3 separate regions of the Homo sapiens genome follow, and regions 2 and 3 are each linked to region 1. Evidence: promoter capture Hi-C in human tissues and cell types (Jung and others, 2019). All regions are on one chromosome and are shown on one strand. Each heading gives the region's core, a stretch centred on a gene start or on the middle of the fragment in contact. The rest is flanking DNA. Distances are from core to core; before and after follow the strand shown. Region 1 holds the start of ASZ1 (ankyrin repeat, SAM and basic leucine zipper domain containing 1). Region 2 overlaps CTTNBP2 (cortactin binding protein 2). Region 3 has its middle 54 kb from the start of CTTNBP2.

Region 1 (4,337 bases), core at 1,319-3,818:
AATAATGCTACTATGGACATTCATGTACAAGTACATTTATTATGTATTTGGAATTAATTTTGTAAAAGGCATGAGACTTAGGTTGAAGTTCATTTTTTACCTAAAGATATTCACCTGCTTCACAACTATTTGTTGAAAAGACTATCCTTCCTCCATTGAATTGCTCTTGCACCTTTATCAAAAATTAGTTTGTCATACTATATGTACTTGTGTGGTGCTATGTCTAGGTTTTCTATTCTGTTCTATTGGTCTATATCAAAAAATCCTGAAATCAAGGCTACACATGAGTCTTGAAATCAAGGAGAGCAATTCTTCCTTCTTTATTCTTCTTTTTCAGAATTGTTTTAACTATTTTACTTCCTTTGCCTTTCCACATACAATTTGGAATAATCTTATCCATATTTATAAAAAAAATCACTTGGTAAATCCTAAGGTTTTTAAAAACCAATTGTATGTGGATAACTCCCACATTTATATTTCCAAGACCAGGCTTCCTCAAGGTCCACACATGAATATCCAACTAACCACTTAACAGCTACACTTGGCTGCTTGGTTTTGAATATGTTAATTTGGGGATGCCTATTAAATCTTCACGTTTATCCACTGGTCTTCCCCCATCTCAGTAAATGCAATGACTACTTAGCCAGTTGCTCAAACCAAAAACCTTCTCTACAATAGACCTAGAGTGTCTTTAAATACATACACACATCAGAACATGTCTTTCATTAGCTTAAAAACATTTCACTGTTCAATTGCTTTCAGTAAAATCCAGATTCCTACTTAAGGCCCACAAGGACCTCTCATCACACACGCCTATCCTTACGAAGCTGTAGCCTCAGGCCTTCTTTCTGGTCCAAGCAGGACAAGAACTAAGGTAAGTGAGGTGACCCAGGAGCAAAATTTAAAAAGGCACTCACTGAATTTGCAGGACCCTGACAGTACTTCCTTAAACTTTGCTTCTTAGGGGACTCACTTGCCCCAGCCTCACTTGCCCCATCCTGGTCCTGAGTTGCTTTTTTCTTGCCTTAGGACCTTGGCACTATTCCTGTCCACTGCCAGGAAAGCTCTATTCTCCCACTCTTATATGGCTTGTTATTTACGACTCTGCACAGTTCTGACTATCCTATCTAAAATCTACCTCTTACATTGAGAAAGACCTTATTCTAAGCCTATTACTTCATTTAGTCCTCATAACAATTCTATTTGGTGGGTACTATCATCACCTCCATTCTACAGATAAGTTAGCTGGTACCCAGATAGATGCTAAGTAAATTGCCTAAGGGCACACAGCTACAGCTAGTGATTCCCCCAGGAAACACAAAAGTGGTTTGATTCCAGAAACAGAGCACACTTGTTTCTTTTGAAGCACTTACAATCTGCAATAGTGTTTTTGTTTCCTTGCATATTGTCTATCTCTACTTATTAAAGTGAGCTCCATAAGGCTCCATGGTTTATCTTTGACGTTGTCTCCCCAAACCTAGTAGCACTTGGCTGTGCTAAGTAATCCCTAGCATTTATTGAATGAATGCATTTAGAAAGACAGATGTGGCACGCAAATAGCTAAACTACTTAAAAATACTTACCTCTGAGCCTCTAAAGTAAATAATTTCAAAATCTTTTATCAGAGAATCTGCAAGAAAAAAACCGCAAAAGCTTTCAAATAATAGTGCATGGCTATTATCTTGAGATACATATAATATGCCCTGTTTCTTGGTGGATCTACTTTTCTGTGGTGGCAAAGAAAATCACTGTGTTACCAACATCTAGAAGTTCTACCATCTAGAACCATGTAGAAAGGTGAGTTCGAGCTTGGGCCACTTCCACCTGGAGTTGTTTGTATTATTTGCTCTCTGGACGTTTAAGTCATTTCTTTCTTTCTGGCTCTTTGGATCCACTGTACCCGGAAACCCCCTCCTTTCATATTTTCCTCTAGGACATCTACACTTCATAGCGGGGAAGTGTTTTGATGGTCTGAAGCTTCTAAATCTAAGGTGAGATCTAAGATCACATGAAATGTAAAGGAAGAATTCTTTGGGGCAGTATTTTCTCCTGGCTCCTTCGTCGGCTCCTACTTGCGTAAGGGCTTCTTGAATGTCTGAGTGGTGCTCCTGAGAGAGGTGTTACTACGAAGAGTCCGTCTCCCAGGGGATACAGATTTAACAGACGTTTGGCAGGGGGCAGATGAAAAGGATGGCGGGGAAAGTCTAGTCTTACTTGCCGTTAAATCCTAGTGTGCTCCTGCCACAAGTAAGGCATTCCTTGCAGAGCAAGAATTTCATCATTTCATCAAGCAAATACTTTAAAGAGGTCGAAAGGTAAGTCCCTGAGAGGAACTGGAAGTGCCAGCAGAAGCCTGGCGCACGAACTTCGTCACCAGTGTCAGACACGCCAGGTTTTCACCTCAAGAAGCCTCAAGGTTAGGGAGGGACGGGGCAGGGAGGAGAGCAGCGCGCCGCTGTGCGCCTGCGCTGGAGGGCTCCAGACTGGAGCGCTTCCACGGCGCTCCTTCCCGCGCATCTCTACGTACGCCCCACCCCGGTGCGCATGCGCCCGGAGAGCTGAAGGGCGCGCGGTGCCGACAGGGAGCTTCCTTGGCTGGCATGGCGGCGAGCGCGCTGCGAGGCCTGCCAGTGGCTGGCGGAGGCGAGAGTAGCGAGAGCGAGGATGATGGCTGGGAGATTGGGTATCTCGACCGGACGTCTCAGGTAGCGGAGGAGGCCTTGTCTTGACCACACCTGGTTTCAGCCTCCCCTGGCCCTCGAAGGCGAGGCCCAGCCTCGTGAAACCTCCTACTCCCTCACGTGTATTTCCCTTTTACCCAGTGGAAATACGGGAGTTTGTACTTAAGCAAACCCGCACAAATTTCCTCGTGTTCCCTCCCCAACTGTGGTTACCACCAAATACGCTTCTTTAGGTCATCGTAACTCCTCAGTTGGGTTTGGATCCATCATTACCTATTCCCTTGAAAGATAATTTTCGACACGAATTCTTTTCAAACTTTGTATCTTAGTCAAAATAAAGCCAAGAAAAAAAACCTGTGTACTTAACCAAACATTATTGTTTCCTGATGAGGTGGAAACAAAAATATATATAACAAGAATTTTTTAAAATGTTTACTTTTCTAGAAATTGAAAAGGCTATTACCCATTGAAGAAAAGAAAGAAAAATTTAAGAAAGCAATGACCATCGGAGATGTTTCATTGGTCCAGGAGCTCCTAGATTCTGGTGAGAGATAAGGGACAGTTTCATCTGAACACAGCTGTCTTAAGTTCGCAAGGATTCTTTATTTTTAAAAGGTTTATGTTGCTTTTCTAATGGAAACGCAACAAATGTTAATGTATCATCCTGCATAATCTTCGTTGACTGAGTCCAGTCTGCCTTATTTTCTTCCTCTCTGCTTGCATTTGGAATGCCACCCTGTTTATCTTCCATCAGTTCTTCCCCCTCCTTCAAGCAAGAGGCCTACTCTAATCCTATCCCACTCTGATCATTCTTAATTCTCTCTTCATTTACTCTGCTGTAATGTTGTTTCTTTTTTCTTTTCTTTTTCTTTTTTTTTTTTTTTTTTTTTTGAGATGTTATCTTGCTCTGTGGCCCAGGCTGGAGTGCAGTGGCGCGATCTTGGCTCACTGCAATCTCCACCTTCGGGTTCAAGCGATTCTCCTGCCTCACCCTCCTGAGTAGCTGGGACTACAAGCGCGTGACACCACGCCCGGCTAATTTTTTTTTTTTTTTGTATTTTTAATAGAGAGAGGGTTTCACCGTGTTAGCCAGGATAGTCTCGATCCTCTGACCTTGTGATCCGCCTGTCTCGGCCTCCCAAAGTGCTGGGATTACAGGCATGAGCCACCGTGCCCTGCCTGTTGTATGTTTCTTAAGAAATGGTTCTACATTTTAGTTCTTTCTCGTTACAGTTTTTTGTTTTGTACTGGTGGAATGAGGCCTGAGCTAGGAATCAGAATAAATATATGGATAATTTCTTCCAGTTTATTGCCCACTCTGGTTTCTTGGAAGAGGCATTAAAACTTTGAGAGCATCAGATTTCATTTTTGGGGGGTTGAAGGAAGGGGATGGAGTGTCTCTCTCTAGCCCTGCTGGAGTGCAGTGGCACCATCTTCGCTCACTGCAACCTCCATCTGGGGGCCGGGATTCAAGTGATTCTCCCACCTCAGCCTCCGGAGTAGCCGGGACTAAAAGCACCGGTCACCAAGCCCAGCTAATTTTGGTAATTTTAGTAGACACGGGGGTTTCACCATGTCGGCCAGGCTGGTCTTGAACTACTGACCTCAAGTAATCACCCACCTCGGCCTCCCAAAGTGCTGAGATTACAAGCAAGA
Region 2 (4,763 bases), core at 1,524-4,023, 310 kb before region 1:
CTACATCAGGAACATTGTGGACTGGCCTCTCATCCTTGTCCTGCTGCAGTTCACCCTCATCTCCTAAAACCCACTCTACCTCCACTGCCGTCTTCTCAGTAGGACCCATGCTGTGGGCTGGAGGCTGATGAAGACATAGAGGAGAATTAGAATCAACAAGGACACCAGAGACTTCAGAGCAGTGCAGGGGAACTCCTATGAGCCACAGGGAAGGATCCATCGACAGGTGTGGTGTCAGTTCTTTCACTGTGCAGAAAGCATGCAGCAGGGAATGATCCTTCAGTCAAGAGGCGATGGATGAGGCCACAGGGTAGAGAAGTCAGAGATCTGGATGGAGGAAAGGGGTTTTCTAGGCTATTCCACTCAAACGTTTAGAATAATGAGCATATAGGGATTATCTACCAGCTACTCTCTTTTTTTACCAAGAAATTAAAGTGATCAAATAGTAAGTACCACAACTGAAGAGTACACTGATTCCTGAGGTATTCTACACGTACTCCTGATGGTTAACCTTATTTTCTCTAAAGAGAGAGCCTTAAACTATGTGGGTTGAATGGGGTGAGAATGCTGAACTTCTGTCTTCCACTGAGCACAGCACACATTGCCTTATGTGTTCCTCTCTATGACGCCGTAGAAGAAAGCCAGGGAACAGGCACAGAAAAGAGTTAAAGAGGGTGTGAGCAAAAAGACAGAAATGAAGAGTAGCAAAAGTATTTTAAATAATTAGGTTTAAGAATCTAAAACTTAAATGGAGATTAAAATGGTGCCAATGAAGAAAAGAATAGAGAACAAAAGACCATTTCAAAGAAAATGACACAGCACTTATTCTAGCATAAATTACTTTGTGTTTATTTTAAAATAACATTTTCTTCTCATATTCCCTTTCTTGAGAGAGGGTCATGTCATATGACTCTGTTATTTGGTAAGGAGGCTGTGAATGCATATTAGAATTAGGTCAAATTTCTCCTCAGTATAAAGTATGGACTTGGGTTAGCAAGATGATACTTTTTAAAATTACAGTGACTGTAAACAGTAAAACAGAAAAAAAAATTAAACACTAGATGGGTATTTTAAAGTAATACTTTGAATTTTTCAAGGGAACTTTCCTTTGTAAAAGTAATGAGGATAGGGTTGCTGTTACAATAGGAGACTATGACAATTGGAGTCTCCAGAAATGAGTTTACCTCCTTGGGCCCTGCATTCCTGGGACTCTTTAAAGGCTTGCCCTGTGCTTCCCACTTGGCCTCTCAGAACATCGTTCCTCCAGAGCCGGGGTTTAAGGGCACATGGAAAAGAGGGGTTGTTTTCTGTCCTGAAAGGGGAGATAATAGACTTGGAGTCACTCACCTACGACACAAAGCAGTTTGGGTTTAGCTAGAAATGCGATATGCTAATTATTTTTAAACTGATAAGTTTGGCTGCAGAATTCACTCTCTGGGACTTTTAATATAAGGATGTGCAAAACTGGGATGTAGCCCTGAGCCTCACAAAGACAGTGTCCAGTTAAAATTACCAACCTGCAGGAGAGGAGCAGGGCTGAGAGAGCCTATAAAGTTGGAAGAAAAAGGTCAAAAAGAGCAGACTGGTTTTAGAAATAGCGTTTTGAAGTGGCACAGAGCAAAGGGAATTCAAATGGCTGACTTTTTGGCCGAAGGTAAAAAGGAACCTGCAGCTGTAACATGGGGTGTGTGGCCTTCTTTCACCTCTCCATAAGCCCTGATCAGAGACTGGTTGATCCTTGAAACTGTAATGAGTTCCTGCTTCTGTGGCTGGTTAATATTTTAGACCTGAAACTACGCAGAATAACCTGAACTAGACACGTACTATTTCTCAACTAAAATAAAATTAACCTTTGCCCCACCTTGACTAAGGATGTGGAACTTAAGTGGTCAGATGGAAAAGTAGGTACTAATGAAAAACTGAGGCAATGAGGCAAGCGAATGAAGACAAAGCTTTCCCCCAAAGAAAGCTGTGCTGTTTGACCCTTGATTGCTACTTCATGGGAGACCAAGATAAAGATGAAGTGGAAAGATAACCCAATGGTTATGTATAGCAGCCCTTCCCCCTTTTTGTCTAGGGCACAAACTGTCCATTGAATGTGAGATGTATTAGGTCACTAGCAATATAGTATTTGCTTGAGGACCCAGGAGAATGAGCATATTGCCTCTTTCCAAGAGACCCCAGCATGCCTGAAAACTCATTTATTTTATCTCCAGCCTGGATCCTTCCTCAATGCCCTCACCCTCATGCCCCACCACCTGCTGCACATCAGAGAAGCAATGCTTCACTCATCAAACACATCAAGCCTGAAACATAACCCATCACCACCACCTCCTCCCCAAGTACATGCTTGGTCACATCTGCTCTCTGCCTCCATTAACTGCTCAGCCTCTTCTCTGGTGGAAACCTAGAGTTGTCTCCAGTATTTCCTCTCTGCCCCTCTTTCAATAAGTCAGCCACTGAGATTTACTGATTCGGTCTCAAAATGCCTTTTCATTCTGTGCGTTGGTCCTGGGTGAGGCTCCCATCATCTCTTTCCTTAACCATAGCAGTAAGAGTCTAGGAGGTGTGTTCTCCTATTTCTTTCCTCCTCAGCCAATTCTCTGCACCATGAAGATCTCAGAGCAGGAGTCAAATCCTGTTTATCCCCCTATTTAAAGACTTCCACTGATTCCCAGAACCAGTAGCTCCCTCCCAACAAGACATTCTGAGTCTTCTACTTTTCATTTTTGGCTTGGTCCTGAGGCTTCATATCAGCAAATCTCGCCCCTGATTGCACATTCCAATCACTAGGGAGCTTTTACAAAATGCCAGTGCCCCAGGCCCAGCACAGTGCAATTAAATCAGAAGCGCTGAGAATCACTGGGGATGGGTCCAGCGATTCCTGCAGCTCAGGATGAAGATGCAGCCTGCCTTCCGCAGCTGTGACTGCTGGGCGCCCTGCCACTCCTGTGGCACCACCCCAAGTTCCCAGCCCTGGCCCGACTTGCTATATGGATCAGCTTTTAGCTCACCATGATGACGCTTTTATAACTATTCTGACCTTGATCTGACGCCGTATTCCCTTCTAGAATTGAATCCTGCCCAGCTCCATTCTTCGGCCAGTGCCATTTCTTAAACTTAGTTTAAAATGCTGGCCAGGTGCAGTGGCTCACACCTGTAATCCCAGCACTTTGGGAGGGTGAGGTGGGTGGATCACGAAGTCAGGACTTTGAGACCAGCCTGACCAACATGGTTACTCCCATCTCTATTAAAAATACAAAAAAAAATTTTGTATTTGGCATGGTGGTGTGCACCTGTAATCCCAGCTACTCAGGAGGCTGAGGCGGGAAAATCACTTGAACCCGGGAGGTGGAGGTTGCAGTGAGCCGAGATCACGCCACTGCACTCCAGCCTGGGCAACAGAGCAAGACTCCATCTCCAAAAAATAAATAAAATGCTACACACCCCCAGTTAGAATGAGTCACTTCTGGCATGCCATAGCACTCAGCATCCAGTACCTGTAGCAAAGAGGCATTGGATAAACATTTGTTGAAATGCAAGGAAATATTCCTTCCTTCAGATGCATTCTGGCTGGCTGCAGCAGCTTCAGAGCCACTTAAACTGGCGATGCACTTAACACAAATCAGGGAAAAGCTGGAGACCTTCAGTCCTCAGTTACAGAAAACCAGATACATAAACCATCAATCCTGTGTGTTTTTTTAATCGCTGAATTAAAAATGTTTGTTAGTTTTCCATTGTTGTTTTCACCAACTACGGATTTCTCATACTTCCACAATACATCTATTTCTGAAATAACATTTGAACCCAAAGAAACATAGAATTTTAGCATTCTTTACCAAACAGCTGTGTTGAAAGGGATCTGACACACACTAGATGCTAGTGTTAGCAGCCCTCCACAAGTACAACTAGATTGAGAGGTGGCTGTGATTGTTTCTAGCCTTCTAGATTTTAAATTTTCATAGCATCCAGAAGAGCCATTTCTGTCTGAGAAGAGATTCATTTACAGTGTTCAAGGAGTTCTTTTGAAAATGAAAATGCATTGTGTCTATAGTAACAAGAAGGAATTGAGAATATACTATCATGAATATTTGTAAAAAGTAGACTATTTGGTAATGTTACTCTCAAGTATCCTAAACTGGTTTCTTTTCAAGGTTAATTTGACTAAAACTGTGGCATCTTAGAATCTTCAAGAAACTAAAGTGATTTTATTTTGTAATTGATTAGTATATGGGAAGTGCCATATAGAATACATTTTAACTAAACTATTAATAGTTTCTGCTTAGTAGATGCCAGGTACTGTTTTAAGTATGTTTTGTGCCCTTATTCATTTCCTATATATAATATTAATTTTTCATTTACTTTTCCAGCTTTCATTTTGGGTTGACAGAAAGTCAGTCCTTCCCATCCTGAGTGAAACGAATGGGAAAATATGAGTCGGAAGTGCTGGATTTTACTCCTCCCTTACCATTGTTTCTGAGACCACAAATTACTTCAGCCTCTCTGAGATCTGGAAAATGGAAAGAGCGATTTACTTATCTCTCTGAGGTCCTGTCTACATTTTTTTTTTTTCTAGACACAGTCTTGCTCTGTTGCCCAGGCAGCAATGCAGTGGCACAGTCACAGCTCACTGGGCTCAGGTGATCCTCTCACCTCAGCCTCCCAAGTAGCTGAGAATACAGGTGCCTGCCACCCTATCTGTCTAATTTTTTGTATTTTTTGTACAGGCAGGGTTTCACCATGTTGCCCAGGCTGGCCTCGAA
Region 3 (4,389 bases), core at 1,200-3,699, 500 kb before region 1:
ACAGTAATCATCCTTAACCTTAAATGATCACCTGCCACAGCAGCCAGAGAAGCTTCTGCTCTGTGTCTTCATCTGAGAAAAAGATCCACAGTTACACTCATACATCAGTCTATCTTCACAGGAAGGATTTTGCAAACTGACAGTAATTGGCAAGGTCCTGGAAACAGTAGGGTCTGTTGCTTATCAGGGTTTTATGGGATTCTGTTATCTTTTCATTTTTATAAAATAATCACCATGACTGTATCTTAAAAATACTATTGATCCCTGACTTTTTTTTTCTTCCGACATTCCACACATTCATTTCTAGTCAGGAAGACAACATTTTATGATTTAATATTAAACTACCAAATCAATGTATTATGCATCCTGATTATTTTTTAACCAAAAAACCAAAATAAGTGTGAGAAATATGCTTATTAAGGAGTTAGTTGTTAAATGAAGCTGCCATTTTCATTTTCTAGAAATTCCAAGCTTGCTCACTGAATATTTACATAGCAAGCACATATACTAATGTCTGTACCTGAGTTTTCAGTTCATCCAACAATAGTCATAGTACCTGCATAAACAGGTACTTTTATTCCTGTTTTATTTTATTCCTGTTTACATTTTATTCAAGTGTACAGTAATTCTTCCTTGGGCATAGGAGAATGTATACATTTATTGTTTCAGAGTTCCCAGTACCTCTTTTCCTCTTCTTGTTACAGAAACCTTTCTTCTTTTGGAGAGCTCCTCATTCTCCACTCTAGTCATAAGGATTTTTTTTAAGCTGTCAGTCACAGAACCCCACTCTGTCCTACACTAGACCAATTATGTTACCTCGCCTCATTAATGGGCCATCTGATTGACCTGAAAATGGGCAGTCAGAGTTTTCTCCAAATAGTTTTTTGAACTGGAGCTGGAGTAGACAGGCAGAGCTTGTTGGGAAGATGAAGAGCTCTCTCCTCTCTGATAAAGCTGAGAATGTGATTCTAGACAGGCTAGCAGTCATGTGCCCAGGCACAGTGAGAAATCAGAAGTGTACAGTAATGAAACCATCTCACAGAAGCAGGGGTGGTTCTTCAGGAATTCTTTCAGTTCTAAGAGCCACCCTAATATGCTTTAATACTATGCTGTTTAATATCGTAGCCAATGGCTACAAGCAGCTACTGAGCACTTGAAATATGACTAGTTCAAATTAAATTGTTCTGTATACGTAAAATATCACTCGATTTTAAAGACAGTATGAAAAAAGGATGTAAAATGTCTAGTTATTATAATGAACATATATCGAGATTATATTTTTGATATACTATTTAAATAAACTAAATTTTAAGATTAATTCCACCTATTACTTTTTATTTTTTTATGTGGCTTCTGGAAATTTTCATATTACATATGAGTCTCAAATTTTATTTCTATTGAAACAGCACTACTCTCTGGTGAACTTGTGTTTTTTGTTTTTCTGTTTCTGTATTTGTTTAGCTACTTTGGATGGGGTTTCTGCCATTGGCAACCAACGGAGCCCTAATTGATGCCATAATTGGTAACAGGACCACAGGCATTGCTGGGGACAGATCCAAAATGTGGAATTGTCTATGTTCAGGTGTAAATAGGACAAGCAGGTTTCCTCCACTCTGAATTAGAGAACTCAGTAGCAAAGCAATTAGTTAATCATTGTTCATTGTTTATTGTTATTCGGATCCTGTGCCTATTCCCACTGAGTTTAGAACTTTATGGGACTTGGTAGAAAGAAAACAGGAATTTGGAAGTATTGGTTACTTCTTGCCAACAATAAGTATGGCTTCAATAAGATGTTGCAACAACAACAACAATAACAATAGCAACAACAACAAATGGACCAAGCAGAGCCATCTAAAAGTGGAGCAGGAGAAAGACACAGCTCTACTCAAAAGGCCATTTTCTGCTACTGGACATGCTCTGGATTTCAAAAGACAACTCACTGCACCCAATTCCAGTAAATGTTCAACCAGAATGGAGAAACCAGATTCCCTAGATGTTTCCAAAGCACTTGTCCCTGGCAAACATCATTCTCCTTTCCCCAGATTATAAAGCATATTGGGAGTACCTGGGGCAGAGGGTCCCTTAACCTTGCCTCATCCCCAATGCCATCATGCAGACAGAGACCAAATCAAGTCCCATAACGATGGGTAGCACCACTGAAGAGTCACCAAGAAACCAAAACCATGAAGGGGCAGAGGCCCAGATTCAAACATCTTGCTCTGACATCAGTTACTAGCAAAAGGAATTCCTAAACAAGCAAACCACTGGGATTTTAAGGAAGTTCCATTGTCACCATCATCACTCCCAAACAAATAAACAAAACACAAAACAAGTCTGGCTGAAAGAGATACAAGATAACTCATAACTCATTGTTTAGGGCAATTTTTGAACCTCTATGTCACTGCCAACAGGAAATGCACAGCTAAGAAGTTGTCAGTCCTATGGCAAAGATGCCTGGCTGTCCACCAGAATTGCTTCCCTTCTTCAGGCATACCTCTAGTCTCCCTTACACTTAGTTGTGGTCCTTTGACTATCTTCAATGGCATATGAGAAGAAGCAATGTCTCCCTCTTCCAATCCTAGCCCATGAAAACTTTGCACATATTCTTCCTCATGCTCTTCTCTCTTCTAGTTAACAGGACTTGAGAAGATCACCAGGTCAACCTTGGAAATCATGCGTTGAAGGTGGTAAATACTACAGCCTTCCTGGACTATGATGTAAGCAAGATATAAACTTCTATTTTGTTGAACATTTACATGTTTGCTGTCACAGCCCAACCAAATATATCTCCCAATACATAAATCCTCCCAAACATCCTTGATGACCAAATCATGTAGGACGCTGAGCAAATTAAACCTTTTTGGTAGATAACAGTCAAGCCAACCCAAAGTGACTAACCTACTGGATTATTTATTTCCATAAAGGAAAGTCTGCAAATAGAGGTAAATTACTTACCTAGCAAGATAAAGATAGTGTCAGTAGGGGCTGCTTCTCGGGCTCCTAATCCTAATTTTAATTTTTTTTCCCATGGGTTACTGGGGAGTAGGTGGAGTTTGGTTACATGAGTAAGTTAGTGGTGATTTGTGAGATTTTGGTGCACCCATCACCCAAGCATTATACACTGCACCTAATTTGTAGTCTTTTATCCCTCACCCCTTTTCCACCCTTCCCTCCTGAGTCCCCAAGGTTCATTGTGTCATTCTTACACCTTTGCATCCTCATGGCTTAGCTCCCACTTATGAGTGAGAACATACGATGTTTGGTTTTCCATATCAGAGATACTTCACTTAGAATAATAGTGTCCAGTCTCATCTAGGTCACTGCGAATGCCATTAATTCATTCCTTTTTATGGCTGAGGAGTATTCTATCATATATATATATATATAATATATATATATATATATATATCAGATATATATACCACAGTTTCTTTATCTGCTCATTGATTGGTGGGCATTTGGGTTGGTTCCACATTTTTGCAATTGCAAATGTGCTGCCATAAACATACATGTGCAATTATCTTTTTTGTATAATGACTTCTTTTCCTCTGGGTAGATACCCAGTAGTGATATCACTGGATCAAATGACAGTACTACTTTTAGGTGAGGAATCTCCATACTGTTTTCCATAGTGGTTGTATTAGTTTACATTCCCACAAGCTGTGTAGAAGTGTTCCTTTTTCACTGCATCCACACCAGCATCAATTATTTTTTTATTTTTTGACTATGGCCATTCTTGCAGGAGTAAAGTGGTATCGCATTGTGGTTTTGATTTGCATTTCCCTGATCACTAGTGATGTTGAGCATTTTTTCATATGTTTGTTGGACATTTGTATATCTTCTTTTAAGAATTGTCTATTCCTGTCCTTAGCCCAATTTTTGATGTAATTGTTTTTTCTTGCTCATTTGTTTGAGTTTGTTGTAGATTCTGGATATTAGTCCTTTTTCAGATGTATAGATTGTGAAGATTTTCTCTGGCTCTGTGGGTTGTCTGTTTACTCTGCTGACTGTTCCTTTTGCCATGCAAAAGCTCTTCAGTTTAATTAAGTCCAAGCTATTTATCTTTGTTTCTATTGAATTTGCTTTTGGGTTCTTGGTCATGAAATCCTTGCCTAGGGCAATGCCTAGAAGAGTTTTTCCAATGTTATCTTCTGGAATTTTTATAGTTTCAGGTTTTAGATTTAAATCCTTGATCCATCTTGAGTAGATTTTTGTATAAGGTGAGAGATGAGGATCCGGTTTCATTCTTCTACACATGGCTTGCCAATTATCCCAGCACTATTTGTTGAATAGGTGGCCTTTCCCCACTTTGTTTTCATTTGCTTTGTCGAAGATCAGTTGGCTGTAAGTAGTTGGGTTTATTTCTGAGTTCTCGATTCTGTTCCATTG

What was found. The method cuts DNA at HindIII sites, captures the fragments that hold promoters and counts their contacts. A contact is called where the count stands out against the background at its distance.
Region 2: a fragment that was not itself captured here is called in contact with the fragment with the promoter of ASZ1 in region 1 in 1 of the 25 tissues and cell types used here (mesenchymal stem cells).
Region 3: a fragment that was not itself captured here is called in contact with the fragment with the promoter of ASZ1 in region 1 in 2 of the 25 tissues and cell types used here (dorsolateral prefrontal cortex and mesenchymal stem cells).

The regions. Positions count from the first base shown.
Region 1 is chr7:117,425,724-117,430,060 of GRCh38, reverse strand. ASZ1 (ankyrin repeat, SAM and basic leucine zipper domain containing 1) reads left to right here and starts at 2,568. Exons shown (of 13, transcript NM_130768.3): 1 at 2,568-2,705; 2 at 3,126-3,225. The coding sequence starts at 2,601. The HindIII fragment of the contact is 3,572 bases long and covers 1-3,521 here.
Region 2 is chr7:117,736,250-117,741,012 of GRCh38, reverse strand. All of the region lies in intron 14 of CTTNBP2 (cortactin binding protein 2), which reads left to right. Among named protein-coding and RNA genes, the nearest start is that of CFTR-AS2, 91 kb to the right of the region's middle. The HindIII fragment of the contact is 5,792 bases long and covers 1-4,763 here.
Region 3 is chr7:117,925,065-117,929,453 of GRCh38, reverse strand. No RefSeq gene overlaps it. Among named protein-coding and RNA genes, the nearest start is that of CTTNBP2, 54 kb to the right of the region's middle. The HindIII fragment of the contact is 4,374 bases long and covers 263-4,389 here.